5 separate regions of the Homo sapiens genome follow, and regions 2, 3, 4 and 5 are each linked to region 1. Evidence: promoter capture Hi-C in 16 types of primary human blood cells and fetal thymus (Javierre and others, 2016). All regions are on one chromosome and are shown on one strand. Each heading gives the region's core, a stretch centred on a gene start or on the middle of the fragment in contact. The rest is flanking DNA. Distances are from core to core; before and after follow the strand shown. Region 1 holds the start of ATL2 (atlastin GTPase 2). Region 2 holds the start of EIF2AK2 (eukaryotic translation initiation factor 2 alpha kinase 2). Region 3 holds the start of HEATR5B (HEAT repeat containing 5B). Region 4 overlaps LOC124907754 (a long non-coding RNA gene). Region 5 holds the start of CEBPZ (CCAAT enhancer binding protein zeta).

Region 1 (5,632 bases), core at 1,315-3,814:
CATTATCAAACTAGTTAATCAGTCTCCCCGTACTCTTAGCAGCTAGCTGCCTAATACCAACTGTGGAAAAAGCCTAATTTTGGAAAAGGTCTAACAATTTCAAGAAAGTTACTTATACTTGTGAATATTCCAAAACTTTAAAGTTACAATACAGTCACAGAAAAACGAATCCTGAAATACACCTATGTGCACTCGACTTAAGGCCATAATCTTATTTTCACTCAGGGTTTCTTTTCCCTATAATATCTTTACTGTAAGGCAGCTACTTCTCCCTAAATAATTTCGAAGAATTTCAAAACACTTTACTAAATAGATTTAATCATATCTACAGAATCCTATCAACTTAAAAAGCCAATAAAATGAGTACTTATTTGCTTTCTAAAGATCCTACATTCCTAAAAGAATAAACACAAAGCCTCTCCCTAACACTAAACTACTCAAGTGACACTTGACCCCAACTTGGTTTTTGAAGCTATTTCTCCAGGAAGCAGAGGGAGACAAAGAGTTTCTACACAGTCAAAAATAGATGAGTCCTTTTCATTCAGTCTGTTTCTTCTCACTTTAAACACAAATCCTACCAAGCTCATTTAGTTTTTAACTCATTAATGAGTGACTCGGAGCAAATTAGCAGGTACAGGGACTGTTTTAGGCAATCATTTGCTAGGAATGGCTATCAAGTGAAGGTCTTGCTGATCCGTCCTAAAAAACAAAGGACAAAAACCTATGAGTAGCAGACAAAAGCATTTATTAAATAATAAATGGTGGGCCCTATTTCAACAACAATCTGAAGAGTATCATCTCTTCTCAAGATACCACAGCACAACAACGTTCACAACCATAACTGAAGTATAAATTTATGTTTCTTCTAATAAGGTAAATACATAGAATATTTTGAAACTGCATCTAAAACTCTTACCTCAAAAAAAGGAAAGAAAGAAAGAGAAAGAAAGAAAAGAACACACACTTCTTCCCCTAGGGTCCAACCAAAAGAGCGAAATTAATCCATCCGCATTCCAAAACAATTAATTACTTAAGAAATCCAACCAGCACACATCTAAGGCGAAGCTGCTTCTTTGGTAGTTTTTTATTCTACAGAGTGCTACCACTGTACAAACAGTCAAGCGTTTTGGTTGGCAGACAATAATAAAATAAGCTTTATTTCCTTTTCTTCTTCCCTTAGCAAAACTCCAGTCTGTCATCACCTCTGACATGCGCCAAGAACTACCAGGAATGATGAAGTATATTTCAAATAAACTTTCCTATTAAAGTGAGTCCTTGTGGTTAACATCATACCAAAATGCTTTACATTTTATCCAGCAAAACCTTTACACACCGTAAAAAAAGAAATCTTAAGACACGAGCTCGTATCTGTATTTAATAATAAACTCTTATCTTGGCCGTACTTACCAAATCGTAGGCTTTTACTATTTATAAGCCTTTGAAAAAACTTTATGCCTTTCTTAAGTACCATCAAAATTTTCAATCAGGATTTCATGCGATCAATTCGCACCACAGTGAGAGATCAAACGCTAAACTCCTATAAATAGGGGTGTTATGAGTGAGAGGGATACACTGCGCTGCCAACGCAACTGCGTCTTCGAGGGGGCAGGGGCGCTCCTGGTACACGTACAGTAGGAGCTCACATTCAGCAAAACCAGGGAGCCAAGGATCAGGTGACTTCACACTACAGACACTTTCAGAGTGATCAGGCCTTACTATCGTCCAAGTGACTCGTAAACGGCTCATAACCCCAGTTTGACACGAAAATCTAGACTTGCACCCTAGCCACGCACAACCCGCGCGAATGGGTTCGGGAGCCGAGGAGCCCCGAAACGCGAGCCCGGGGACAGAGCCCTGGCCTGCGGACTGCGGTTCCCTCCAGGAAGGGTGTCTAAGGAGCTTTCGGACCCGGCAGCAAGGTGTCTGCTCCCCGCGCGACCTCCTCCTCCGCGGGGCCCATCATGCCCTGGCCACCCCTTCCTCCCTGTCCGCGTAAGGGACAGCGAACGCCCACCAGCTAACGGGTCGCCCCGCCGCGTCCGGAGCTCGCCGGACGGAGCGGAGCCGCAGCCGACCTCCCCGCGCCCCGGGCAGGCGGCCACGGCTCAAGGCCGCCCCCTAAGGTCGGGGCGGACACGGCGGCAGCCACGCGGCGGGCTGGCGGGCAGGGGGCCGGGCCGGTCGCAGACGCGCGCGCCACTGGTTCTCCCAGCAGCTACTGGAGCCGCGGCCCACGAGCCGCCCTTTCAGGCCGCGCGCTGCGGGAGCGCGGGGCGCGGCTGAGGCTAGGCCCGGCGGGCAGGCGCGGCGGCGGGAGGAGACCTGAACCAGCCGCGGACTCCGACCCCGCCGCCTGCGGCCGGTGCCCGCGAGCCCGAGCAGCGAGCGTCTCTCCCCATCAGGGCCCCGCGGCCTCTGCCTCGCTGGCCCGTACCTAGGGAGGTCGTGGACGAGACGTGGTTAACCGCGGCGCTTGGGTCGCTGGTCCGTCGCCGGCGCCACAGCCCCTGGTGCGGTTGCTGCCCTCGCGCTGCCTCGTCCCCCTCCGCCATCTTGTACCGATTTAAAATTAACTCCCCACTGACGTCAAACGCCGCCGCCGCTTTATCAACCTCCCGGGAGCCGGCGGGGTGGCCGGCGGGTCCTAGCGCCGCTCTCCGCCTGTATCTCCTCGCCCTCCGCCTGTATCTCCTCGCCCTCCGCCTGTATCTCCTCGCCCTCCCTCCGCCCCCGCCCCGCCCATCGCTCGCTCGCTCCGCCCTCGCCCTGCCCGCCTGCAGATCCGTCTCCCCGGCTCCAAGTTTCTGGTTGGACTGGGGCGGGGGTGTCCCTGCCGCCGCCGTCTCACACCCCCACCTCCCTGAGCTCAGCACCACACCCCCTTAGCGCTGGGCCAGGCTCTGCAAACGCAGAAGGGAGCTCCAGAGAACTAAGTCCCTCCCTCCCAATTCGCTTTACATCTCTAATCGTTGATTCGTGCGTCCTGCACGTGAGGTGGCTTTCGCACCCCTTCTCTCCTTTTCATCGCCCCCTCCTCATCACAGCCATTCCCCTCCTCTCTCCCCATCCACCCCCCAAGTTGTTGCCAGTGCCCTGCTTTTCCTCTTGATCTTTTCTTTCCTCACCCAAGTCCCTACTGTTGCTTCCCCTCCCCCCCACCATCCTAAGGTTTGTTTGCATTCGCTCCCCATCTACTTATGAGACCTTCCCCCATCTTCTCAACTGTGTATACCCTGGCCCTGTGCTCCTAGCACCTTGCAGAGGCATGCCAGAAAGCACTCTAATCGGAAAATGAATCGTGGCAGGTTCTTACCTAATTGTGATGAACCTTCTTCTGGGGATCCAGTGACATCCAGTAGAAAGTTCAGGTCACTTTTTAAATTACAAGTCAGCCCGTGGAGGCGTCTGTGAAACATGATCCCTTTGGATTTTTACCATACTGCCAGCTGCATTAGAAATTCCTCTTCTCCAGTAAAAACAGATGTCCGGGTGTACAAACAGCTGTTTTGTCCAGGTCTTTTCATAAGTCTAAAATTCACAGCATGCACAATCTCTAGAAAAGCACTGGTGTTATTAAAGCTTTCAAAATACCATTCTAGGTAGGGCATGGTGGCTCACGCCTCCCGGGTTCAAGCAATTCTCTGCCTCAGCCTCCGGAGTAGCTGGGATTACAGTCCCCCGCCACCACACCCTGCTAATTTTTGTATTTTTATAGACACGGGATTTCACCATCTTGGCCAGGCTGGTCTTGAGCTACTGACCTCGTGATCCACCCGCCTCAGCCTCCCAAAGTGCTGGGATTACAGGCGTGAGCCACTGCGCCCGGCCCATCCAAATATATTTCAACAGAATATGGAGTTTGTCATCATTGTCACATAAATCTAGGAGAATAACTATATACGTGTTCTTGGCAATATTCTTTGAGTTACTAAGATTCTAGTTCTGGGACTTGAACCACCTCCACAATCTAAAGTACAGTTACCCTTCCCCCTCGTTCATATTGATGGCAGGATCTTTATCAACTTGTTAAGTGATATTCCTCTTACGTCCTTGTGATATATGATTTGGAGAGCTCACTTTGTCAAGACATTTTCTGTTTTATCATTGGCCTGAAAAACGTAGTATTGAAAAGGAAGAAAAAGAAGAAGCAGAAGCAGAAGAAGGAGGAGGAGGAGGAGAAGAAGGGCAAAAAAATCTTCACGAGGATTGTTCTACAAAGATTTATTTACTGTCATTTACTCACTAAAAAACATTTGCTTAGGCACATAGAAAAAAGAAACCATTTACAAACAGCACAGCATAGGCCATTTGCTAAATTAAGGTTGATACAGTCAGTGACAACAAAAAGCTACCTGAATCCTTACCAAAGTGCAGTGTTCACCTAAGCCAAATCACCCTCTATGCTTAGTATAGGCAGTCCTTTGGAAGATATTGAATATCTTACATGTAATAAAAGACCTTATGGTTTCCCTCACTGTGCCTTCGATTTTAAGGACTTCAATTCTATCTACTAATCTAGGCTGCTACCCCATGTGTTTCGTGTTTTGCTTTGCTTTTCTCTTTTCTTTTCTTTTTTTTTTCCTTGCCTATGTTCTTCTCTTTTTGGTGTTCTGCCTATCTTGGCTCCCAAACCCACTCTCTCCCCCATCTGTGGTTACTATGCCTGAATCAAGAGAGGTCAAACGCTTATTTAAAAAAAAAAAAAAAAGGCTGGGTGTGGTGGCTCATGCCTGTAATCCCAGCACTTTGGGAGGCCGAGGTGGGGCGATCACCTGAGGTCAGCAGTTCAAGACTAGCCTGGCCAACATGGTGAAACCCCATCTCCACAAAAATACCAAAATTAACTTGGCATGATGGCGGGTGCCTGTAATCCCAGCTACTCGGGAGGCTGAGGTGGGAGAATCACTTGAACCTGGGAGGTGGAGGTTGCCGTGAGCTGAGATCGTGCCATTGCACTCCAGCCTGGATGACAGCGTGAGACTCCATCTCAAAAAAAAAAAAAAATAGGCTGACCCTGGGTACACTGCCTGTGAGTTAGCCCTACTCCGCAAGGAGCAATACCATTCAAAAAAGACTGCTGCTTAACACCACCAGCTCAAAAAAAAAAAGAATTAATTAATTAATTTTTTGCTGTCCGGAAAAAAGTCAGTGATTCCTAAGGAAAATTTTTCCTTGCCACCTCTCAGGGAGACATTCCGTCTTATAACTCTTCTATGGGAAAGCACGGGGTACTGAGAATATGAGAACTGACAAGAACTTGCCCTACAATCATTTTAACCTTCATGGAGATGGTGTAAGATAGAAGGAATGGGCCAGGCGCGGTGGCTCATGCCTATAGTCCCAGCACTTTGGGAGGCCAAGGTGGGTGGATCCCTTGAGCTAAGGAGTTTGACACCAACCTGGGCAACATAATGAGAGCCTGTCTCTACAAAAAATACGAAAATTAGCCAGGCACGCACCTGTAGTCCCAGCTATGGAGGAGGCCAAAGTGGGAGGATTGCTTGAGCCCATGAGGTCGAGGCTGCAGTGAGCCAAGATCACACCACTGCACTCCAGCCTGGGTGGCAAAAAAAGAAAAAAGATAAAAGGAAAGTTCCTCCCTGTGAGAGGTAGAGATTTAGATATCCATTAG
Region 2 (5,450 bases), core at 1,419-3,918, 1.2 Mb before region 1:
CGAAACTCCGTCTCAAAAAAAAAAACAAAAACAAAACAAACAAACAAAAAAACATCAATTCAATCATGCAGTCTCCACAAGCCACTGAAATTGTTTTTGTCGAGGTTACCAATGGCTTCCCTATCACTAAATCCAGTAGTCAGTTCTTAGTCCTTCTCTACTTGACTTACAACCAGCATTTGATGGGGTTGCGCATCCTCTTCGCCCTCCTCTCCCTGTCTTAGCTTGGACTTTTAAGACACCCACTCTCCTAGTTTTCTTCTTTTGAGACAGAGTTTCGCTCTTGTTGCCCAGGCTGGAGTGTGATGGTGGCATCTCGGCTCGCTGCAACCTCTGCCTCCCGGGTTCAAGCGATTCTCCTGCCTCAGCATTCCGAGTAGCTGGGATTACAGGCGCCCACCACCACGCCCGGCTAATTTTTTATATTTTTAGTAGAGACGGGGTTTCCCCATGTTGGCCAGGCTGGTCTCAAACTCCTGACCTCAGGTGATCCACCCACCTTGGCCTCCCAAAGTGCTGCGATTACAGGCATGAGCCATGGCACCTGGGCCTGGTTTTCTTCTGTTCTGACAAGCTACTCCTTTTCTGTCTCCTTTCCTGGTTCATCTTCAACTTCTTTTCTTCTATTTTTTTTTTTTTAACCTTTTCTATGGTTCTAACTTCCTCTTTTCTAGATATTCTAGCATCACTGGGCCCGGTCCTTAGACTTGCTCTTTTCTACTTGGACTCACTCCCCTGGTGATCACCTCCAGGTTTGTGGCTTTAAATTCCACGGACACAATGATGGTTCTCAAAAGCACGCTTCCACCATGGACTCTCTCCTGAACTCCCAACTGCCTCTGTCCAACCTGCTCCCTCCTAAAATGCCCTTGACTCTATTCCTTCTGCTGTCTTGGCCTGGTCAATTTCTACTTCCTACAGATTTCAGCTCAAAATCCCAGACACTCCTTCACAGGCTCTTCCACAGTGCTCATCCCCTTTATTAAAATTGCTTATTTAACTATTTTCCAAAATAGAGCATGAATTACTACAGGTAAGGGACCAGGCTCAATAATGAATGAGTGAGTACCAAAATATCTCCAGATACCCCATCCAGGACTTGTCACCTGCTTTTCTCTACATTTATAGTGCAATATCTGCATTCTCTCTGTACCCACCAATATCCACTCATCTATCAGGATCAACACAGCCTTCTTTGATGCTGGAGGGTCAGCTAGTATGGGCTTGCCACTCCACCTTGCCCAACCTTCAACACAGCCCTGACTGCTTTTTAAACTAATTAGTGAGCTCTTTGGGGAGCAGATTCTACATCTTATTCACTCATCTGGAAGAAACCTCCATCATAATCACTAAAAAATAATATTTGTCCATCTTACTAATGCCCAGAAATTATTTTGGCTATGCCTCCACTTCCTTTCCAGCAGACTACATACAGCCTGGCCAACACGGTGAAACCCTGTCTCTACTAAAAATAAAAAAATTAGTTGGCTGTGCTGGCGGGCACCTGTAGTCCCAGCTACCTGGGAGGCTGAGGAAGGAAAATCGCTTGAACCTGAGAGGCAGAGGTTGCAGTGAGCCCAGATCGTGCCACTGCATTCCAGCCTGGCGACAGAGTGAGAATCTGTCTCAAAAAAAAAAAAAAAGAAAAGAAAAGAAAGAAAATGTCACCAGGTGATAACTACTATGTTGACAACCGAAGTAGTGGAAGGGGGAACAGCAAGGGCAGAGCGGGGTTTCTTGTATAGGCAGGTTGTTTGAGGAAGGCTGCTCTGATAAGCTGGCATGGGAAGCAGTGCAGGATAAGGGAGGGATTTCCCCATGCAGTTATCTGGGGAAGAAGCTTTCCAGAAAGAAGAAACAAGCAGTGCAAAGGCCTAGAGGCTGGAGGATGCTTGGCTGTGCACCAGGAACAGCAAGGAAGCCAGCGTGGCCGGAGTAGGGGGTGCGAGGGGCCTTGCCTGTGAGCCTTAATAAATGTTTATAGGATTCTGATGAGACAGGAAAGCTACGGGGAAGGTCGGAGCAGGGGAGAGTCTGGTTCTTACTTAAAGGAACATTCCAGATGCTGAGGTGTGGAGAAGAGGTAGGGGGTGGAGGTTCAGGGGTGAGGATACGGAGTGGGAACAGGAACTGCGGCCAGGCAATTGGGAAACTACTGCAACTCTCCACGGAAGAGATTTTTAGCCAAAGATTGTTCAGCCAGTCTATGAGTATTTCAGGCCTCCGTATTTTCCATGTGTCAAGCCACTAGGCCTATTCGTCTTCCACTAGACCCCGCCCCACAACTGCTGCCTGGGAAATATTTGTTACTTGCACTGATAAAAATTCTTCACGGGAAGGAAATGGCTTTCAGTCCCCACCCCGCTCCACGATCCTTTCCCTGGATTTGGGGAGGGCCCCACACCCGGGCTGCGGACCTGGGCCTGCTCTCCCAGTGCTGACCCAGCCGGGGCCAGGGGCTTCGGATCAGCGTCCGCGTCCTGAGCTGGGGACGCAGGATTGGCGAGTCCCGCCCCGGCTGGGCCTGCAGCCCCTCGTACGTGGCCCCCCGGCCCCCGCTCCCCGCGCTCCCTCGGCTGCCCCCTGCCCTGCTCACCTGCGCCGCCGCCGCCGCCGCCGCCGCCGCCGGCCGGAGACCCGCGGCTTCGGGAGAGCTGGTTCTCAGTTTCGTTTTCCCCTTGGACTCCGCCTTCCCTGCAGCCGCCCGGCCCCCTCTCGCACAAGCCCTCGTCTGCTACGGGATTGGGGTAAATTGGCGCTGGATCCAGAGTGCGCGCGAGAGGCACTGGCGGGCGGGCTTGGCACCGGCGGGCGGGCTTGGCACCGGCAGGCGGGCTTGGCACCCACGTGCTGCCCCTGCACGGCCAGGACCCTGCACCCCCATCCCCCGCCCCCGGGGCTCCTAGGGTTCTCCGCTGGCCTAGTCCGCTGGCCGCACTAGGTTCTCGAATCAAGGGTTCCACTTACTCTCAACACAAATATTTGGGGTGGGGTTGGGAAGATGGATCTTACCAGCTCCATTCTACAATAGAGGAAACTGAGTAAATGAACTCACCCAGGGGTCCTGCCGCTCGTAAGTGGCAAAGCCAGGATTCAGTTCAAGTCGGGGCCTGTAAACACCAAAGCACTCTTTCCCTCTTGCCACACCGCGGCCCCCTCACCTTTACAAGCCTGGGGATCAGAGGCCTGGGGGCGTAATCTCCTTCACTCCGCTCCCACCCATCCATTCATTCATGAGCAGACACTTGCCAGCCGCTGTAAAAGCACCTGTGGGCCAGTCCTGCTGCTAAATAGAGACACCTGCTTCCTACAGTACCCCAGGGAGCTTCCTACCATAGTCCAACACCAGTAGTCCTCGATTTATAGAAATTCTACTCACCTGATGGACTGCGACACACTCCCAGAGTCACACAGAGTTCCAGAGTTCATTGGCACAGTGACTAATGAGTATTGAGGCACAGAGAATTTGGATTAACACAGGTAGTAAGCAGCGGAGTTAGAATTATAACCAGGAGTTTGTACTCTCAGTATCTTAGCTGGGATAAGAGAGGAAGGTGGTCCAAAGACAGACCTCAAATATACATTAAATATTATGCCTAGGCCGGCGCGGTGGCTCATGCCTGTAATCCCAGAAATTTGGGAGGCTGAGACGGGCGGATCACCTGAGGTCAGGAGTTCAGGACCAGCCTGGCCAACATGGCAAAACCCCGTCTCTACTAAAAAACACAAAAATTAGCTGGGCGTGGTGGCAGGCACCTGTAATCCCAGCTACTCCAGAGGCTGAGGCAGGGAGAATTGCTTGAACCTGGGAGGCAGAGATTGTAGTGAGCTGAGATCATGCCACTACACTCCAGCCTGGGTGACAGAGTGGGACTCCAATTCAAAAAAAAAAAAAAAAAATTACACCTAGGCAGGCATCCTCTCCAGCCTCCCTTCTCCATCCCCCAACAACCCCACATTGCAGGGTATCAACAACTAAAATCTACACTTTCCTTGTAGCTCTGGTCCTGGGCATAGCTTAAGTCCCCTATATGTAAAGCACTGGCGGGAGGTTTAGAAGGTAGACATGAGGCAGAGCCATCTTTTTGTGGCATTTCCAGGTGACAAGAAAACTCTGACAGTGCTGTGTGTCCATTTGTCAGCTTTGTGGGTGTGGGATGGCTGTGGCAGCAGCAATGGCAGTAGCAAGGACAAGTTTTTCTGACTTTTTGAGCCCCTGAACTGCCCAAGAGAGCTTAAAGAATGAAAAATGGCAAGCTTAAGCATGATCAGAGGACACACGCTTTTATGACTGTACCAGAAAACCCTCCTATTTCAGGGAGCCTCAGGGGTGATGTAAAAATCTGCCTTCTCTGCTGGGGAAAGATTTGGAAGGAATGATATCAGAGGGTTGGTGATGAGGTCCAGGGGAATGATATGATATGGGTGAACCTCTTGGAATGGGTAAAGTGTGAGCATATTGGACTCCCTGAGGAGCCCAATTCCCTACTGTCTGGGCTCTCAGCTGCAAAGCTTGGTGCTGCAGGCACCAGAATTACAATATAATTGTTTTGAGACAGAGTCTTGCTGTGTTGCCGAGGCTGGAGTGCAGTGGCACAATCTTGGCTCACTACAACCTCTGGCTCCCGGGCTCAAGCAATTTCCCTGCCTCAGCCTGCCAAGTAACTGGGATTACAGGCGTGTGCCACCGCACCTAGCTAATTTTTGTATTTTTAGTAGAGAAGGGGTTTCACCATATTGGCCAGCCTGGTTTGGAACTCCTAACCTCAAGTGATTCCCCCACCTCGGCCTTCCAAAGTACTGAGATTACAGGCGTGATCCACCGCGCCCAGCCTAGAATTACAACAAAAATTTTCATTTGCAGCCTCATCAGGTCTCTTCTGTGAACACTGAGGGCATTGATTGTGAAAGAAAGAAGCCCTGGGAATTTGGGTGGATTTGAATGAATCCAAGTGCCACTGCCCTCCTAAATTCTGCTGTGTCTCCACAGGCTTCCCACCATTGTCTGATAAGGCTGGTACAGCCTACATTAAAAAGCATGAAACAGTCACCCTGCAAGGAGGTGCTGATTCTCCAAATATCCTATCTCTACCTGTGCCTTCACTCCTAGAACTAGAATCAGATGCTAATGCGCCCCAAGAGGATATGGACAAGATCTGATGGAGGGGTGATGCTTTACACAACAAAAGAGCAACAGAAAGCAAGAAATAGACATGGCAATGAGTCTAAAGATGACGTGAAGAAAGCTGAAAGTTGAGGCTGAGCGCGGTGGCTCATGCTTGTAATCCCAGCACTTTGGGAGGCCGAGGTGGGCGGATCATGAGGTCAGGAGATTGAGACCATCCTGGCCAACATGGTGAAACCACGTCTCTACTAAAAATACAAAAATTAGCTGGGCGTGGTGGCATGTGCCTGTAATCCCAGCTACTTGGGAGGCTGAGGCAGGAGAA
Region 3 (5,795 bases), core at 412-2,911, 1.3 Mb before region 1:
AAACAATGTTAATGGCTGGCTTGCTGTTAATAGACACTTGAGTAAATCTCTGTTCCGGGGTCTCAGCTCTGAAGCCTGTGAGACCCCTGATTTCCCACTTTACACCTCTATATTTCTGTGTGTGTCTTTAATTCCTCTAGCGCCGCTAGGTTAGGGTCTCCCCAAACGAGCTGGTCTCGGCAAATCAAGGCTATGCAGGAAGAAAAAACAGATTAAAAAAAAAAAAGAGCCTATTATTGACTCCTCAAAGAGATAAGTGAAGACACTGGGATTGTTAGGCAGCATAGAGAGATCACTTGCAACGGGTGACGATGATAAATTTAAAGTGACACCAGTCATATAGCCATGTTTTTCTCCAGTTACAATGAGCTGCCCAGGTACAAACATAAAGAAGATAGGCAATGAGCTGGATTTAAACGAGGTTTGAGTTTTGCCACTAAATTTCCCATTCGTGTAATACTCTCAAGTTCCATAAGTGACCCATAAACCTTCCAAAACATAACATGTGTTTTCTTAAGAATCATGACCACATAATCTCTTCACGTTAATGCAACTGGGAAAAAAGAGCAATACCATACCTTGTTGGCAGCAACCAAGACTTTATCAAGAAATCGCAACCATTCAAAGATGAAAACTGGTCTTTTTGCTTCGGTGATTTGAGCCAAAGCTTCTTCATTTAGCAATAAACTGTGGGCTAACTCCATTACGGAAGTTTGAAATTCACACCTTAAATTTAACAGAGTAAAAAATACTTGTAAGTATTTTTTAATGTTAAAAGTCAAGCTTAATGGAATATACTCACTAAGAAAAGTAGGACTACTCATTTCATTTGGGGAAAAACTCAACTTCTTTGAGGCAAAACCTGAGAACATACTTTTAAATGACAAAAATACAAACAAAAACAGAAGAAAACTACTTGGTAAGGAAGAGTGACTCATGGAGTGAAAAGAAAATTAAAAGAAATTATTGCCAAAAAAGGCATTATTCCAGAAGAAATATGTCCAGCAACACATATGTCATTTACCCGTTCTATAAATGAAAAAACTGAAGCACTAAGATCAAACACCCCAGCCGGGCTTGACAACCATCCTCCTCTTTTTCTCGTCCAGGGTTCGGTACATAGCACCTTTACCCTCCCGCGCTGCACCTGGCCAGAGGGACTGAGGTCAAAACACCCAGCACAGACATCCCGAACTGCAGGTCTCCAAGACTCTTCCTACGCGGATGGGTGGGGCGGCCAGGCCCGGCGGCCGAAGCGTCAGTGACAACACCAGGCGGTCCGGAATGCACCCGAGAAGCCTCGCGCGCTCGGGGTCTGGCTTCACCTGGCTACTCCAAGAACCGCAAGCGGCGGACCCGGGGAAACACCAAGAGGCCGCCGCAAGCCTCCGTGGGGTTCCGCAGGCTGTCAATAGCACGAGGCGGCAGCTCGGAACTAAGCACGGAGCCAGAAAAGGGAAAATGTTCATTACGAACTCAAATGTCTTCCCCACCCGTCTGAAAATGTACGTCGGACAGGAGTCCGTGCGTGTCAACATGCATGCTTCGGCGACCTCACCTCGTAGTCTGGAAGGGAAGATCAGCTGAGCTCCGGGGGTAGAAGCAGCCACCAAGAGACCCGGATGCCCCACCTCCCGCACTCCTACCTGCAGGAAACAAGGGAAGAGCGCTTGCGCGGAGGGCTGGTCTTGCGCAAGCGCAGTCACCACGTCCTCCTATCCCCACCCGCCGCGAATTTCCAATAGAGTCTGCACTAGGAAACTGGTGGGAGCCGAGGTCCGGAAGTCCGACGCTGGTCGGTGGGCGCATGCGCAGCGCGCGCTCTACGGCGCTGAACCGGGGCGAGCAGAGAGCTGTCAGGTAAGAGAGCTGTCAGGTAAGGGTCTGGGGACAACCGGTAGAATGATAAAAGGCAGAGTGCGCTGGCCATGACTACCGTATCACACCGTCAGCCACTTTTCCATCCGTGGGTGGTTGCGTCTGTGGGACGCTTGCAGCCAGGAGGAACGCGTGAGGGAAGGGATCAGCGGTTCCTGAGCGTAGTATTGAGAGTGGGACGTTTCTTGTCACATTTATACTGTAGGTCCATTTCTCCACTTGTATATGTAATGGGACTCTCAATATGTCTGTTTCCCGACTACGCCCCCTAAAAAAACAAAAACAAACCTACTCCTACAGTCTTCCCACTCTCAAAAAACGTTAACTCCGTTCTTCCATGTATTCAGGCCAAAAACTTAGCGTTATCTTGACATCGTTCTTTACGTACTACCTACAACATCAGCAAATCCTGTAAGCTCTACCTTCAAGTGTACCCCAAATGCGACCACTTGCATTGCTATCACTCTGGTACGAGCCTCCATCATCTCTGCCAGGGTATCGCCTTGTGAAGTTTATGCTTATCTTTGATGGAAATGGATAATGCTAAAGTATATTTTACCAATAGAAAGAGAGCTTTAAAAGCAACCTGTAACCCCATTCAGATGTGCCTGGCACTTTAAAGTTAAGTAGGTCTCTTAAAAACAATGTAATCCTATTTGCAAGGCACTATGACCCGGATTCTTTGTGGTTTTGAAATAGTCATTTAGCCATACTGAACCTTAATTTCTCCAACAGGAAAAACTCTTCCTACCTTGTAGAGTTGTTAGTGGTGGTTAAATGTGATAAAAATGTGTGATATACTGGGTAAGTGTTAAACCATTATGTGTAAAAATGCTGTTATTACCAATGAAGAATCTGAGGTTTAGAGGAAGCGGGTGAATTACCATAAATGCTGTATATAATAGTGCACGTTTTTAACTTATAATAAAAATAGGTAAACTAAACTGTAATGTTTAAAGATGCACACGTGGATGACAAAACTATCGAGAAAATGAAGGAAATGATTGCCATAAAAAACAGAATAGTGACTATTCTTAGAACCAAAAGAGAGTTGCAACTGGATAGGGGACAAAGAGGGCTCCCAGGTGCCTGATAAGGTTCTACTTCCTGATAACTTTTGCTACATAACAAATTATCCCCAAATGTAGCAGCTTAAGATAACTGTAATCATTTGTTATCTCACAGTTTCTATGGGTCAGGAATTTGTTAGCAGCTTAGCTTAGTTTAGCATGGACTTTCTTAAGAAGTTGCAGTGAAGATGCCAGCCCAGGCTGAGTCATTTGAAGGCCTGACTGGAGCAAGAGAATCCATTTCCAAGGTAGCTCACTCCTGTGGCTCATGAGTTTGTGCTGGCTTTTAATAGGAGGACTCAGTTCCAATCGTGTGACCTTCTCCATAGAGCTTCTTGAGTATCCTTATTATGTGACCACTGACTTCCTTCAAGTGAGTCATCTAACTTCAAAGTTAGAATGACCTAAGAGCTGCAGTTATGACCAAAAAATCAACTCCATCATCTCCACAAAATCCTGTTGGTTACACAGGTTAATCCTGTTCACTGTGGAAGGAGACTACACTAAGGATGTAGAAAACCACACAGCAAGAATGACTGGGAGTCATTTTGGAGGGTACCACATGGTTACAAGAATGTTTGACTCACAGAAATGTATTAAGCTGTACATTTGTTTTATGTGTTTTCTGTACGTATTTAAAAAGTGTTTAAAAATGACTTGTTGACATAGGAAAAAGTTATAAAATTACAAATATTAAAGACCCTTTTTATCCTCATTGTTGCTAAACAATTATTAAGCATTTGTGTTTGGGATGCAGTGGTAGGTAGGGAGGATATAGGGGACTTGTCTTTGTGTTTAACACAAGATATACATTATCTAGTTGAGAAGATATACATTAAAAATATAAAAAACCAGGCCAGGTGTGGTGGCTCACGCCTGTAATCCCAGCACTTTGGGAGACCGAGTGAGGCAGGTGGATCACTTGAGGCCAGGAGTTTGAGACCAGCCTGGCCAACATGGCAAAACCCTGTCTCTATTAAAAACACAAAAATTAGCTGGGTGTGGTGGTGGATGCCTGTAATCCCAGCTACTCGGGAGGCTGAGGCATGAGAATTGCTTGAACTCGGCAGGTGTAGGTTGCAGTCAGCTGAGATCACACCACTGCACTCCAGCCTGGGTGATAGAACGAGATTCTGTCTCAAAAAACAAAAAAGAAAACCATTAAAAATTAGTATAGTAATCCTTTTTTCATCCAGTGTAATTGTCTAGACACTTGGTTGCAGTTGACAGAAACCCTACTTCAGCAAGCTTAAGTAATGCAGAAATGTATTAGTCTATGTAATGGGGTAGAATGCTAAGTCGCAGCTTCAAAGAATCCGCAGCCTTGGAAACTAGGCTCATTTTCTCTATCTGGCTTCATTCTTCAGACAAGATCCCTTCATGGGGCCAAGAAGATGGCCATCCACAGCCCAGCTTCACATTCTCCCAGTTCAGAAACACCCATAAAAGACCTTCTTTCCCCCACAACCCATATATTCATATAATGTAAGGAAAAAGATGGTTATTTCTCTGGCTGGGTCATCTCGTCCCCTGGTGCTGGACATAGAGTACTATAATTGACCATCTTTGTGCCCAAGGAAATATGGGATACTGACATTGCCACCCTCCACTAAAACCACATGAAGGGCAGAGGGTTGGATTCCCAAAGGAAAAGATGGTAGGCAGGAAAAAACAGTACATATGCACCACAACAAGTGAATACACTTTTGTCTTAAGCAACTGAACTAGCAACATTGACATTGCCTGTGAACCTGCTAGAAATGCAGAACCTCAGGTTCCAGCCCCAGAATCAGATTCTGCATTTTAAGAAGATCTCAGTGCAATTTGTATACACAATAAAGTTTGAGAAGTACTTTTGTAGAAAATTACTTTAACCCTTTAAGGGCCAATAATTACATGATTTTAACTATTTTGGATAGAAACTGTCCCTCAAAATATTTCCACATAAGTGAGTTGTTAACTATATCAACTTCCAAATGAGCAGCTTGGACATAAAGTGCTGTAGAGAAAGGCCTGGAGTGGTCAGGAGAGGTTTCTGAAGGGAGGGTAGCCTTGGCCTACAGGGAAGAAATGTTTGTACTCTGTTCAGAGGGCAGTGAGGAGCCATGGGGCTTGAATAATGAATCCTTAGGGACAGTTGTGTCAGATTATGAAGGACAACATCTCATGCTTTGCAAAAGTGACTGGTCCCCCACTGCCTACAGGGTCAGGTTTAATGAAGGATTTGAAACAGGCTAGTAACGTGACCTGACTTGTATTTAAAAACAAACAAGCAAATAAACAAAAAACCTCTGGATGGGGTGCAGAGAATGGACTGGAAGAGGAGACCAACTAAGAAGCTGATTAAGAAGCTGTTGTAATAGTTCAGGTGAGAAAAAAAAAGTGCCTGAACTAAAGCAGTGGTCACAACTGTAGAGAAAACGTCTGTGAGGAGTTTTATGGAGGAAGACTTGACAGCTTCATAAGAGGTCAGGAAGAAGGAGATAATGATGACATCAACATGGAAACACAGGGGATGTAGAAGGCTGGGGAAAGGGGAAAGAAATGAGTTGTTTAGATTGTTGAGTTTGAAATGTCCACAGATAAAGATGTCCAAAGGGCACTTGAATATATAGTAGAGCTCTAGAGACAGCTCATGGCTGCAGATACAGAAAGGTTTATTTCCATTCTGATAAACTAAAAAAAAAAGTAATTATTACTTTATTTGTAGATACTATAGCCATATGAAGTTGAACATGGCAGAAGAAGAGGACTATATGTCTGATTCCTTCATTAATGTCCAGTAAGTAAATGTGCACACCCAGTGCAATGATATGTATAAGATGTGTAGATTAAGAAATGACATTG
Region 4 (5,704 bases), core at 2,494-4,993, 1.0 Mb before region 1:
TTATCTGATCCCACAAGATGGAAAAATTAAACATAGATGAAATTTTTTGAATAAAATGTCAACATGTATGCCTCTATAAATATACAGACTTAAACATTATATGCATGGATGCTTCCTGTAACGATCAGTTGTTTGTAACTTCACATCATAGGCAGTTTAGGTACTGTGTAGATCAGTGCTGTCTATTCTGTGAGCTGTAAAGAATGAATTTTGTGTGTGAGTCTTTGTCTTTTGCTGGGCTAGGTGCCAGAGCTCCGGCATTGGAAGGTGGTTGACTTGCAGATTGGTGAGAAGAATTTACTGACAACAGTATAGGTTTGAAAAGGAAAGTTTTACTAGATAGAAAGAAAGCTGCAAAAGAATGCAGCAGGGCACCTCAGCAAGGGAGGAATTGTGGTGGATTTTCCCTTAGGCGTGTTTATGAACCTTAAAGCGGGAGTTTAATGGTAATTTGGACCCTATTAGCCACATAGGTCATGATAAATGGTTAAATTTGTAGGCATTTTGGTGCCTTGATGTCAGCAAGTGTTGCACAATGAGTTTCAACATACATACATTCTGCAGATGTATGGAAATTCTAGTTACTTATAAATTTTTGAGAAAGAAGCCTGGAACCAGATGCCCGCTTTAGATAACAGGGAAGTCTAATTACTTCTAAATTCCTCAGACGAGGAGTTTTTTCCTCTGGATGGCTGGCTTGACGGTCACCAGGTGACCTCCACTCTCTTCATCTTTGATTCTACTTCTCATCTCCTTGAGTGCACTGAAATTTCTTACTAGAGATTCATTTCTTTGGACCTTGAACACTTTTGGTTTTCAGAGCTCTCAGAGAAAAACTGATCAAAAGTATGATAAATTATTAAATGGATAAAAGGAATTTTGTTTGAGGGGCATAATTAGTGTTTGTGAAAGGAATCAGGGTTTATGGGGACTGTTCCTCTGTCCTTCTTCGAGAGGACAGCGCATGTTATTTAATAGGACTGGGAAGTGAGAAGGCCAGAAAACCAAAGAAGAGGAACGTTTTTTTTCTCCTAGCTTTTATTGCCACCTTCACCCGACCTCTGATCTGGTGAAAGAAGTTGGGAATATTTACAGGAAATCTGGATTCCTGAGATTTCTAAGGAACACTAAAAATCTGACACTGGACTGCAGAGGCAAATATTTTAATTTTTCACTCTGCTATCGAAAGAGGTGGCGGACAGATTCAAACAAGAATATAATGTAGGACTCTTTACATTCTGTGACTATTAAAGGAACAAAAGGCAGGGTGCTTCAGTACTAGACTTGCATGGGGCCAGAAAGTTGGGGGGTTTGAATTTAAGCTGCCTACTTCATAATTTGTCTAAGGCTGGGCCACTTTCCCAATCTTTTTTGCTATTATCCTCAGGGCCTTATGAAATAACTACAATGCAACATGACTATTAATGTTATAGTTAATCTGATTATATGATTTTTGCTGATGTATTTCTCAAAGTGTGTGACTTCATGCAATGATTCTCAGCCGTGGCTGCACGTTAGAATCACCTGGGGAGCTTTTAAGCGATCTGACGCCCAGACCACACACCAGGCTAATCATATCAGAATCTCTGGGGGTGGAAGTCAGACATCACCATTTTCTAAAAAAGGCTTTCTAGATAATTTCCATGTGTAGCTACAGTTGTAAGCATTGGTTTAATGTATTATCATCTGTCTCTCTCAAGTAGAATGGTTTTAACATAGTGATTCTCTAATGTTTTGGTCTCAGAACTCCTTGCATTAGTAACAGTAATTGAGGACCACAAATAGCTTTCATTTATGTGGACCATGTCTATCAATATTTATTGTATTGAAAATTAGAACAGGCATTTTACAAATACTTAATTATGGATTTATTTTAAAAGAATAAAGTCATTGCATCTAAAGACACATGTTTTATGAAAAAATACATTTTCCAAAGTAAAAAGAGTTTAGTGAGAAGATTGGCATTTAAAAAAATCTCTTTAATTTCTGACTTTTTAGATGACAACTGGATTCCCATATTTGCTTATGCATTCCACCTGTTGTGATATATTATTTTGGCTGAAGTACATGAAGAAAATTTGACCCCACACGGACATGTAGTAGGAAAAAGGAAGAGTATTTTAATAGCCTCTTCAGATAACTGTGGATAATCTCCTTCATTATTAAATCAAAACATAACAAATGATAGTGTCATAAAAGGTACAACTTAAAATCTGCTTCTAAATACATGTTTTTATTCCATTACATTAAAATCCACTGGGTGTCTCTTATACTTTGAGTGGAACTTTTCTTTGTGACTTTGTAACATGATGAATTGAACATTTGGAAAATATTGCTTCACTGAGTTATGCAGATATTCCAAATGTTGAGCATTTCATTATATATAATAAATAATCACATTTGTTAAAATCACCAATTTTGTCATAAAAGTTGTTGCATATCAGGAAACTATCAAGCTTATGGTAGCAGATACAAGTTATCCAAAATTCCAATTTTTACTGCAAAGATCCAGTTTTATCACTGGCAACAAACAGTGTCAGTTATTTTCCTTCAAGGGATAGGCGCACTTTATTCATCTTCAAATGTCTGCCAAATATCCAAGTCTGAATAATCATAATTTATCAGTCATTGTTCTTTCAATTAAATTGGAATTTCATGAAAAAAGTAGCAAGTTCACTATGCTTCTCTCTCTCTCTCTTTTTCTTTTTTTGAGACTGTCTCTCTCTGTCACACAGGCTGGAGTGCAGTGGTGTGATCTCTGCTCACTGCAAACTCTGTTTCCCAGGTTCAAGTGATTCTCCTTCCTCAGTCTCTGGAGTAGCTGTGACTACAGGCACCTGCCACCATTCCCAGCTAATTTTTGTATTTTTAGTAGAGATGGGGGTTTTATCCTGTTGGCCAGGCTGGTCTTGAACTCCTAACCTCAAGTGATCCACCTGCTTTGTCCTCCCAAAATGTTGGGATTACAGATGTGAGCCACTGCGGCCCACTATACTTCTGAAACAACGGTACAAATGCTTTTCTTTGAGACAATTGCCCTTTGGTGTGCAGCAGAAGTGTTTGATTTCTACGTCTTATTTTCCCATGTGAGTATAAAGAGCTGCATACTCTCAATTTGTGCTTCCAGTTAAGATGGAACTGGATTTGTCATCCCACCTAAAATATATTAAAAATGACATTCACAATGGATTGGATAAAGAAAACGTCACACACACACACACACACACACACACACACACGCACACACACACACACACCCTGGAATACTACCAGCAATTAAAAATAACAAAATTTTGTCTTTTGTAACAACATGGATGGAACTGGAGGCCATTATCTTTAGTGAAACAGCTCAACTAGCACATGTTCTCACTTATAAGTGGAAGCTAAATAATGTGTACACAATGACATGAAGAGCTGAATAATAGACATTGGAGACTTGGAAGGGTGGGAGGGTAGGAGGGATGAGAAATTACCTGATGGGTAAATGTATACTATGTTTTCAGGTGATGCTTACACTAAAAGCCCAGACTTGTCCACTATGCAGTATATCCATGTACCAAAACTGCTCCTGTACTCTCTAAGTGTATAAAAATTTTTAAAATGATGCTTAAATATTGGAAAAGAGGTATCACAGGAAAGTGGTGAGAAAAGGGAAAATGAAATGAGATGAGCCTGATGTTTTCTCCAGCTTACTGCTTTGAGAGTTTCCAGGATGCAGTGCAGGTAGGAGGAGTCCACACAGAGCTGGTGGTCTCCATGAGATGAAAACGCAGACGTGAGGAGCTCTCTCTCCTCCTGTACTCTGTCCTGCTAGATTTAAAATCTAGCTTCATGGAGAGACAGCTTCAGAAGGCAGTAAAACAACAATTTTATTACTTCATCAATGACATTCTTAAGTGAAACTGGCTCTTTTTCTTTTCTTTTATCGTCCTCTTCTTTTTTTTTTTCTTTATGCGTGGCAGTGAAAAATACTAAGATGGCTGGGTATGGTGGCTTACGTCTGCAATCCCAGCACTTTGGGAGGCCGAGGCAGGTAGATCACCTGAGGTCAGGAGTTCGAGACCAGTCTGACCAACATGGTGAAACCCTGTCTCTACTAAAAATACAAAAATTAGCAGGGTATGGTGGTGCATGCCTGTAATCCCATCTCCTCAGGAGGCTGAGATAGGAGAATCGCTTGAACCTGGGAGGCAGAGGTTGTAGTGAGCCGAGATGGCACCATGGCACTCTAGCCTGGGAAATAAGAGTGAAACTCCTTCCAAAAAGAAAGAAAGAAAGAAAAACACAATGACTACAAGTATAGATTTTCCTCCTCAATAGTACAGTTTTGTGTCCTGTATTGACAGTTGCTAAGGTGCCAGCATTTTTACCCATCATTGCTTTTGCAACATCAGTGCAAAGTCTATACAGTAGAAAAAATGAATCTTGTTTTGGTATTATTATAAAAGTTGATTTGACTTTGGAGACAGCCAAGAGGGTCTTGGGGAATCCCCAGTATCCATGGACCACACTTTTGAAAACTATTGTTTTAATAGAACCTTCTGGTCATTACTACTTTGATCTAATGGCGCCACTTTAAAGGTGGGACTGGGTGTAGGAACATCCTGCCATGGCAGCTTCATGGAGAAGATCTGTTTTGGCAATTGGGTCCTTCATTTCCTTCACATCACAGTATGGAATCTATACTATAATGGAGGTAAAAATTTCTCCACTTGAGAACAGTGTTATCACTGTATATACAACACATTTTTTCCATGATGAAAAACAGGGTCTGAAACTTTAATTAAAATGGAAAAGTCATTAGTTATCTTCCATGGGAAGAGTTTGAAGAAAGGAAAAGTTGAAGTAGGGCAAAAATAGCAGATATAAGGTATTTCTAAACGTTTCCCAAATGAAGGAAGAGAGAAAAGAATGAGCGAAGGAAAGGAAAAGGGTATTTAGTGTGTAAGACACTAGAAAAGATATGCATAAGGAATGAAGTGATACATACATAGTGGTGTTGGATTTGTAGATTCTTGGAAAGTTGGCAGAAAAGCTTACATGTAAAAAAAAAACCAATGTATTGAAATCAGTCTCACTAGCTATGTGGAATGTTTTAGATTTGTACCAGATACAATACGTTTGTGGTGGATACAGGAGATGCGCTGCCCAGATCTGCCCCCAGGGAAGGACCCTGCTCCAGCTGTTGGAGGCCGGCTGGCCCACAGCCTCTAGCAGTCAAGCTCTTTTGGCTGGAAAGCCGCTTGCAGGAAATCACTCCATGGAGGTGCAGAGATAAGGCCCCAGACATTTTGGCCCAGTATGGGACAACTTTGACCGTCTTTTTCAGCTTCAGGACTCCCATGGAGTTGGGTGAGGTTGTTGGGCCCGCTTTGCTGCTAACTTCTCCCTCTGTTCTCTCCTGTTCCCCTTCTTCCTCCCACAGGGGTTTGTCCCAAGGGCACTCCCTAATACACATCCTGCATGTTAAACTCTTGTCTCAGAGTCTGCTTCCTGTAGATACCAAACTGTAAGAACATCTTATTGACTTAAATATAACCAAAATTGGAGAAACTTAGGAAACAAAATCATCATTACGTTATGTGCTGACATTTTAGCTTATTTCTATATTTCTTGTTTTGAATTGCTCATACTTAGCATGATAGTACCTCTCACATTTTGTTTCATTTAGGTTTGCTATTTCCACGTTCTCTTTCTTATAGGA
Region 5 (5,417 bases), core at 536-3,035, 1.1 Mb before region 1:
TGATCCTCCAACCTCAGCCTGTAGCTGGCACTACACGCCCAGCTATTTAAAAAAAAAATTTTTTTTTGAGATGAGGTCTCCTTATGTTGCCCAGGCTGGTCTCAAACTCCTGGACTCAAGGTATCCTCCCACCTCTGACTCCCAAAGTGCTGGGATTATGGGTGTGAGCCACTGTGCCTGGCTCATTTCTACAAATTTATACTACATATACACTTACAAAAGTGGGGGAAAAACACGATTAAGGTTATTAACTGTAGTATTATTTAAAATAGTGAAAGACTGGCAATAATTTAAATATTCACAATAAATGGCTGGTTAGATAAATTAAGACAGACAAAATGATTTATGCAGCCATAGCAATGACACAGAACGTTATGCACTGATATAGAAGGATTTCTAAGACAGAAAAGAAAGCAAAATGTAGAGATAGGTGTATATATATGGTACCATTTATGTAAAAAAGATACACCCGTATTTCATACACATAAATGAGTATGTATATGCTTGAAAAGGTATATAGTATCCCTGAAAGATATAAAATGCAGTTGTAAAAATAATTGCTTCCTATCAGGGCAATGGTTATGGCTGAGATAAAAGTGGAAACAATTTGACTTCACTATGTATCTTTTAAAGTTTGCACCACGTGTTTCATGTGTATATATTACCTATTCAAAACTTAAATATACACAAGCACAGAGCAAACTGTGAATCTGCCTATCTCTAACTAACTCCTCCACCTTGAAAGTCCAGTCTCCAAACAAAATAATATTAAAAACAAAGTTAATTTCTGTTCCTTATCTGCTTAAAATCTTCCAGTGGTTTTGCATCAAACTCAGAGCAAAAGCCTGCCCTCTGACCCCTCGGCCCTCCTTTCTTACTATTCTCCCCTTAACTCACTCTGCCTCTGCTACACTGGCATTTTGGCTGCTCATGGAATAGGTTAGGCACTCTTCTGCCTGTCTTTGCATTTGCTGTTCCAACTGACTGGAATGGCAGCTCACTCCTTCCTGTCCTTTAGGATTCTGCTCAAACATTTCCGTGATGTGTTTGTCGATCATCTCATTTAATACTAACGCGCTCCCACTCCTTATCGTCCTTCCTTGTTTTATTTTCTTTTATAGCACTACCCCGCGTCTGCTGTACTATGTGTTTAAAAGTTTGTTTACTGTTTCTCTCCCTTAATTAGGATGCTCCAAAAAAGAGGGCTTCTGGGGCATACAGTGACACGTGCATGTACTCTATGAGAACAGAAATGAAAATTCCAATACCACTGGTGTTCAAAACACTCATACCACAAGGTCAGGACCAAGAAAAGCCACTCTCCGACCTGATGGTGTGATGGTTATACCACGTCAATAAAATCAGAAGATCGCCTACATCCTAAGAATAGCCAGAGAATACAACGTTCAATTCGAAACTTTTCTTTTGTAAACAGCAGTGGAAACCGGCGTGGGAAGCGCACCGAACACATGCTTCAGAGGCTGGGATCTCGGTCCTGGACGCCCGCGCTCTACGCAGCGCGGAAGCGGCGGGGCAGTCAGCCTAGCCACCTTCGGAACTCTCCACGCCTGATCCCGTTCCCCGGAGCCCGCGGCCGTTACCTTGGTGCCTCCGAGCCGTAACACTTCCTCCAGGGAGAACCCATTCTCGGCTTCACTAGTATTATCCTCATCCTCCTCGTCCGGATCTTCTACTGCCTCCTCGGGGCGCCAAGGCCGCTTGGCATGGAACTCCAAAGGCTCCTTGACTGCGGCCATGGCGGGCAAAGCATACGCGCGTGAAACTCAGCCTATTTCCGCTCTGCCAGTGGCGTAATTCCTGTCGGGGCGTGTCTTCTCCCGGAAATGGTCTAAGCCCCAGCTCCTGGCGGAGCGAGCTAGCCTGCGAATTTCAGCATGAGTGTACTGCTGAGGTCAGGTTTGGGGCCGTTGTGTGCCGTGGCGCGCGCAGGTAAGCGTCAGTCCCCTCGAAGCCCGGTTGCCGTGGAAGCCGCGTGGGGCGCCTTCCTCAGCTCTTCAGTTGAGGGTACCGGGGGATCAAGGGCTCGGGGGCTCACTTCCACCTTGAAGGTACCCTGGGCTGGAAACGGGTCCGGTACAAACGCAATAGGGCTGCGTAGTCGTGGGCAAGTGGGTGCTGTCTCTGCGCCCCGTGGGCGTGCTAAGCACAGTAGCCCGCGGTCTGCGGTGGGGCGAGGTTAAGGGTTCACGAAGCTGTTTTGAAAACGCTCAGGCGGCTTGCGCTCGTGAATGGTCAGATTTATCATGGGGTCTGTTTAATTTGTGTTTTTCGCAGCCATTCCTTTTATTTGGAGAGGGAAATACTTCAGCTCCGGGAATGAGCCTGCAGAAAACCCGGTGACGCCGATGCTGCGGCATCTTATGTACAAAATAAAGTCTACTGGTCCCATCACTGTGGCCGAGTACATGAAGGAGGTGTTGACTAATCCAGCCAAGGTATGGGTCGGGTAGCCCGAGGACTAGGCCCTCTCTAGCCGATTTGCGAGGTGCAAGCCAGGAGGGAGAAGCCCGAAGGTTCTCAGCCCAGGCAGTGGGGGTGCCTGCCAGGGGAAGAGCCATTTCTGAGGACCTGGGGACAGATAATTTGTCAGTTGGTCAGGGCTGGCTCACGTCAGAGGCAGTGCCAGTAAAGAGGAGAGGACACGGTCCAAGGGTGTTTAGGAGACAGAATGTAGCTGATTGGATTTATGATGCGGGAAGGATGACTTTCCTACTTGGCTGATGGTGGGTGGTGTGGATTCATTGCTTTGGGAGAAGGAATACGGGAGGAAGGATGGAGAGTTCAGGCTGGTATATGAATTTGAAGTGTGTGGGACTCTTAGGTAGAAATCTCCAACAGGCAGCTGGAAATAGGAATTACTGCCTGGAAAGTCGTCTGTGTTGGAATGGCTTCAGCTGGCATTGGAGACATGTGCTGGGTTTTCTCACATGTGCAGTTGAGAATGCAGTCTGGGTCGTCTTCACTGTTCTAGGATTAGGCACAGTCACAGCTTTCTGACCCACGTTTCCTTGTCTGTTCTACAGAGCCATTTGGTGAAAGCCTATAGTCCTTTATTTTAGAATATTTCATCTTTTGCTGGGTTGAAATATGACCTCTGTGGAATTCTGGGGTTAGATTGGCCATTGTTGTTGGATATGGTAGTGTGACTCTAGTGTCGAGGTTTACCCAAGGCCGGTATCTTTCTTTCGATGCCGGTTAGGCAGGGCTGCAAGATAGGTGGCTTAGACTAGTGTGGTGGTACTAGAAATAGAAGAGGGTGATTTAGAAAGGGACTGACAGGATTTGCCGATGGATTGAGTGATGGAACGGAGGAATCAAGGCTGATTCGTACTTTTAGCTTGAGCAGTTGGGTGATGATGGTACCTTTTATTGAGATTAAGACAGACAGGACCAGGTTTGGAGGAGTACTAGGGAGAGGGCCTACACCAGGAGCTGCATTTTATACATATTTTGTTAGCAGTGACATGCAGGTGGAGATAGAAAGTAGGCAATTCGCTGTAAGAGTCTGGCGTTCAGGGCCGGACGTGGCGGCTCACGCCTGTAATCCCAGCACTTTGGGAGGCCAAGGCGGGTGGATCACGAGGTCAGGAGTTTGAGACCAGCCTGACCAACTTGGTGAAACCCCGTCTCTATTAAAAATACAAAAATTAGCCGGGCGTGGTGGCTTGTGCCTGTAATCCCAGCTAGTCAGGAGGCAGGAGAATCGCTTGAACCCGGGACGCAGAGGTTGCAGTGAGCCTAGATTTCGCCATTGCACTCCAGCCTGGGCAACAGAGCGAGACTCTGTCTCAAAAAAAAAAAAAAAAAAAGTGAGCCTGGTGTTCAGAAGAAAGACTGGGCAGGCATATATACATTTGCTCGTCATCAGCATATAGGTCATATTTAAAGCCAAGGAACCAGGGAGAACATACTGAGAGAAAGGAAGGTTTCCCAGCATTGAGAGTAGGGGTAACTCTAAAATGTAGAGGCTCTTAACCTAGGGACCCTTTAATAGAAATCAGGGGTTTCATGAAGCTGGATGGAAAAAATATTATACCTTTATTTTCACTAACTTTCAACTGAAATTTAGCATTTCTTCAATTATGAACATACGCAGCAACTAGTAGCATCAGCAATACCTGTGACTTTGTCATCTGTGGAAATCATTGGTATTTCCTTATCACAATACAGTGATCACAGGCATCTCAGGATTTCATCGTGCTCATCCTTACTTCAAAATTTTGTTAATTATTGGGTCTTTGGCTTGATTATGGGCTTTTTTGTTTGTTGGCTTTTTGAGATAGAGTCTCATTCTGTCACCCAGGCTGGAGTGCAGTAGTGCAATCTTGGCTCACTGCAACCTCCACCTTCAAGGTTCAAAGGATTCTTGTGCCTCAGCCTCCCGAGTAGTTGGGATTACAGGTGTATGTTTCCATGCCCAGCTAGGTTTTTTGTATTTTCAATGGAGATCGGGTTTTGCCTTGTTGGCCAGGCTGGTCTTGAACTCCTGGCCTCATATGATCCGCCTGTCTCAGCCTCCTAAAGTGTTGGGATTACAGGTGTGAGCCACTGTGCGCGGCCTAATTATATTTTTTTAATACACTAGTAAAGAAGTGTATATATCACATTTTTTAGAACATTTGATACACATTTTTCAGTTATTTCTTTGTGGTTCTGTGCATTTAAAAACACTCTGTGAAGGGGTCTATAGGCATCACTGGGCTACCACAGTGGTTCATAACACAAAAAAGCGTAAATACCCCAATAATGTTTCCTTATGAACGGAACTAGAAAGCCTAGAAGAAGAGATGTGTGGATTGAAAAAATGTTCTCAAAAATGGGAGTGACTTGATTTATTTTGAATGCTGAAGGGGGAAAGTTGAAGCTGGAAGAGAGAAGGGGACAGCTAAAAGGACTCAGGGGAGTTGTATGAGGAATGGTCCAGAGCACAGGCGGAGGGATTAGGTTTGGATGAGAGGAGAAGGGGAAGGCATTTCATTCTTGGAGTCCCCAGATTAGGTTAGAGGCCAGGTGGGGATGGGAAGCTGAGGAATTCGTATTTTATAACATTCTTTAATTCTGGAGTGAGACTGGGGCCCATGTCACCTGTAGTAAGGTGGTAGAATAGGAGCTTGAGAAGCATAAGAAATATTTAACTCAATTCTTGAGTGTTTCTTGAAGGTTAGGCATCGTGCTAAAACTTGGGATATGAAGATAAATAAGGCATGATCTTCTGCAAACAACTATACTTTGTGGTGAAGAACAGAGACAAATTAGCTCAGAAAAGGTGGCACTGGATTTGGCCTTAGGTTGGAGGGCTGGAGGAGGTCAGCTAGGTGGCATTTGAGCAGATTCGGAGGTTGAGTATAAGACTGCCAGGGAAAGTTGAAAAGGGAGAAGGGTGAGGATTTGCAGTG

What was found. The method cuts DNA at HindIII sites, captures the fragments that hold promoters and counts their contacts. A CHiCAGO score of 5 or more calls a contact.
Region 2: the fragment with the promoter of EIF2AK2 here is called in contact with the fragment with the promoter of ATL2 in region 1 in 1 of 17 cell types (monocytes); the score reaches 7.2 in monocytes.
Region 3: the fragment with the promoter of HEATR5B here is called in contact with the fragment with the promoter of ATL2 in region 1 in 9 of 17 cell types (activated CD4 T cells, non-activated CD4 T cells, naive CD8 T cells and 6 more); the score reaches 12.5 in activated CD4 T cells.
Region 4: a contact is called between a fragment that was not itself captured here and the fragment with the promoter of ATL2 in region 1, in 1 of 17 cell types (monocytes). The highest score is 6.6, in monocytes.
Region 5: a contact is called between the fragment with the promoter of CEBPZ here and the fragment with the promoter of ATL2 in region 1, in 1 of 17 cell types (monocytes). The highest score is 5.5, in monocytes.

The regions. Positions count from the first base shown.
Region 1 is chr2:38,374,709-38,380,340 of GRCh38, forward strand. It overlaps ATL2 (atlastin GTPase 2), which reads right to left and starts at 2,565. Exons shown (of 13, transcript NM_001135673.4): 1 at 2,435-2,565. The coding sequence starts at 2,552. RefSeq lists enhancers at 1,657-2,158, 2,159-2,658, 2,485-2,734 and silencers at 1,985-2,484, 2,705-2,864, 2,935-2,984. The HindIII fragment of the contact is 2,426 bases long and covers 1,152-3,577 here.
Region 2 is chr2:37,154,312-37,159,761 of GRCh38, forward strand. It overlaps EIF2AK2 (eukaryotic translation initiation factor 2 alpha kinase 2), which reads right to left and starts at 2,669. Exons shown (of 17, transcript NM_001135651.3): 1 at 2,597-2,669. RefSeq lists silencers at 2,459-2,578, 2,779-2,968 and an enhancer at 2,599-2,728. The HindIII fragment of the contact is 2,417 bases long and covers 1,839-4,255 here.
Region 3 is chr2:37,082,711-37,088,505 of GRCh38, forward strand. It overlaps HEATR5B (HEAT repeat containing 5B), which reads right to left and starts at 1,662. Exons shown (of 36, transcript NM_019024.3): 1 at 1,559-1,662; 2 at 579-726. The coding sequence starts at 704. It overlaps GPATCH11 (G-patch domain containing 11), which reads left to right and starts at 1,808. Exons shown (of 9, transcript NM_174931.4): 1 at 1,808-1,860; 2 at 5,659-5,730. The coding sequence starts at 5,672. RefSeq lists enhancers at 1,170-1,269, 1,740-1,899. The HindIII fragment of the contact is 3,413 bases long and covers 782-4,194 here.
Region 4 is chr2:37,337,572-37,343,275 of GRCh38, forward strand. LOC124907754 (a long non-coding RNA gene) reads right to left here. Exons shown (of 2, transcript XR_007086284.1): 2 at 1,845-3,156. Among named protein-coding and RNA genes, the nearest start is that of QPCT, 4.2 kb to the right of the region's middle. The HindIII fragment of the contact is 2,579 bases long and covers 2,455-5,033 here.
Region 5 is chr2:37,229,811-37,235,227 of GRCh38, forward strand. It overlaps CEBPZ (CCAAT enhancer binding protein zeta), which reads right to left and starts at 1,786. Exons shown (of 16, transcript NM_005760.3): 1 at 1,602-1,786. The coding sequence starts at 1,757. It overlaps NDUFAF7 (NADH:ubiquinone oxidoreductase complex assembly factor 7), which reads left to right and starts at 1,848. Exons shown (of 10, transcript NM_144736.5): 1 at 1,848-1,950; 2 at 2,296-2,456. The coding sequence starts at 1,896. RefSeq lists enhancers at 1,131-2,330, 1,288-1,737. The HindIII fragment of the contact is 13,102 bases long and covers 1-5,417 here.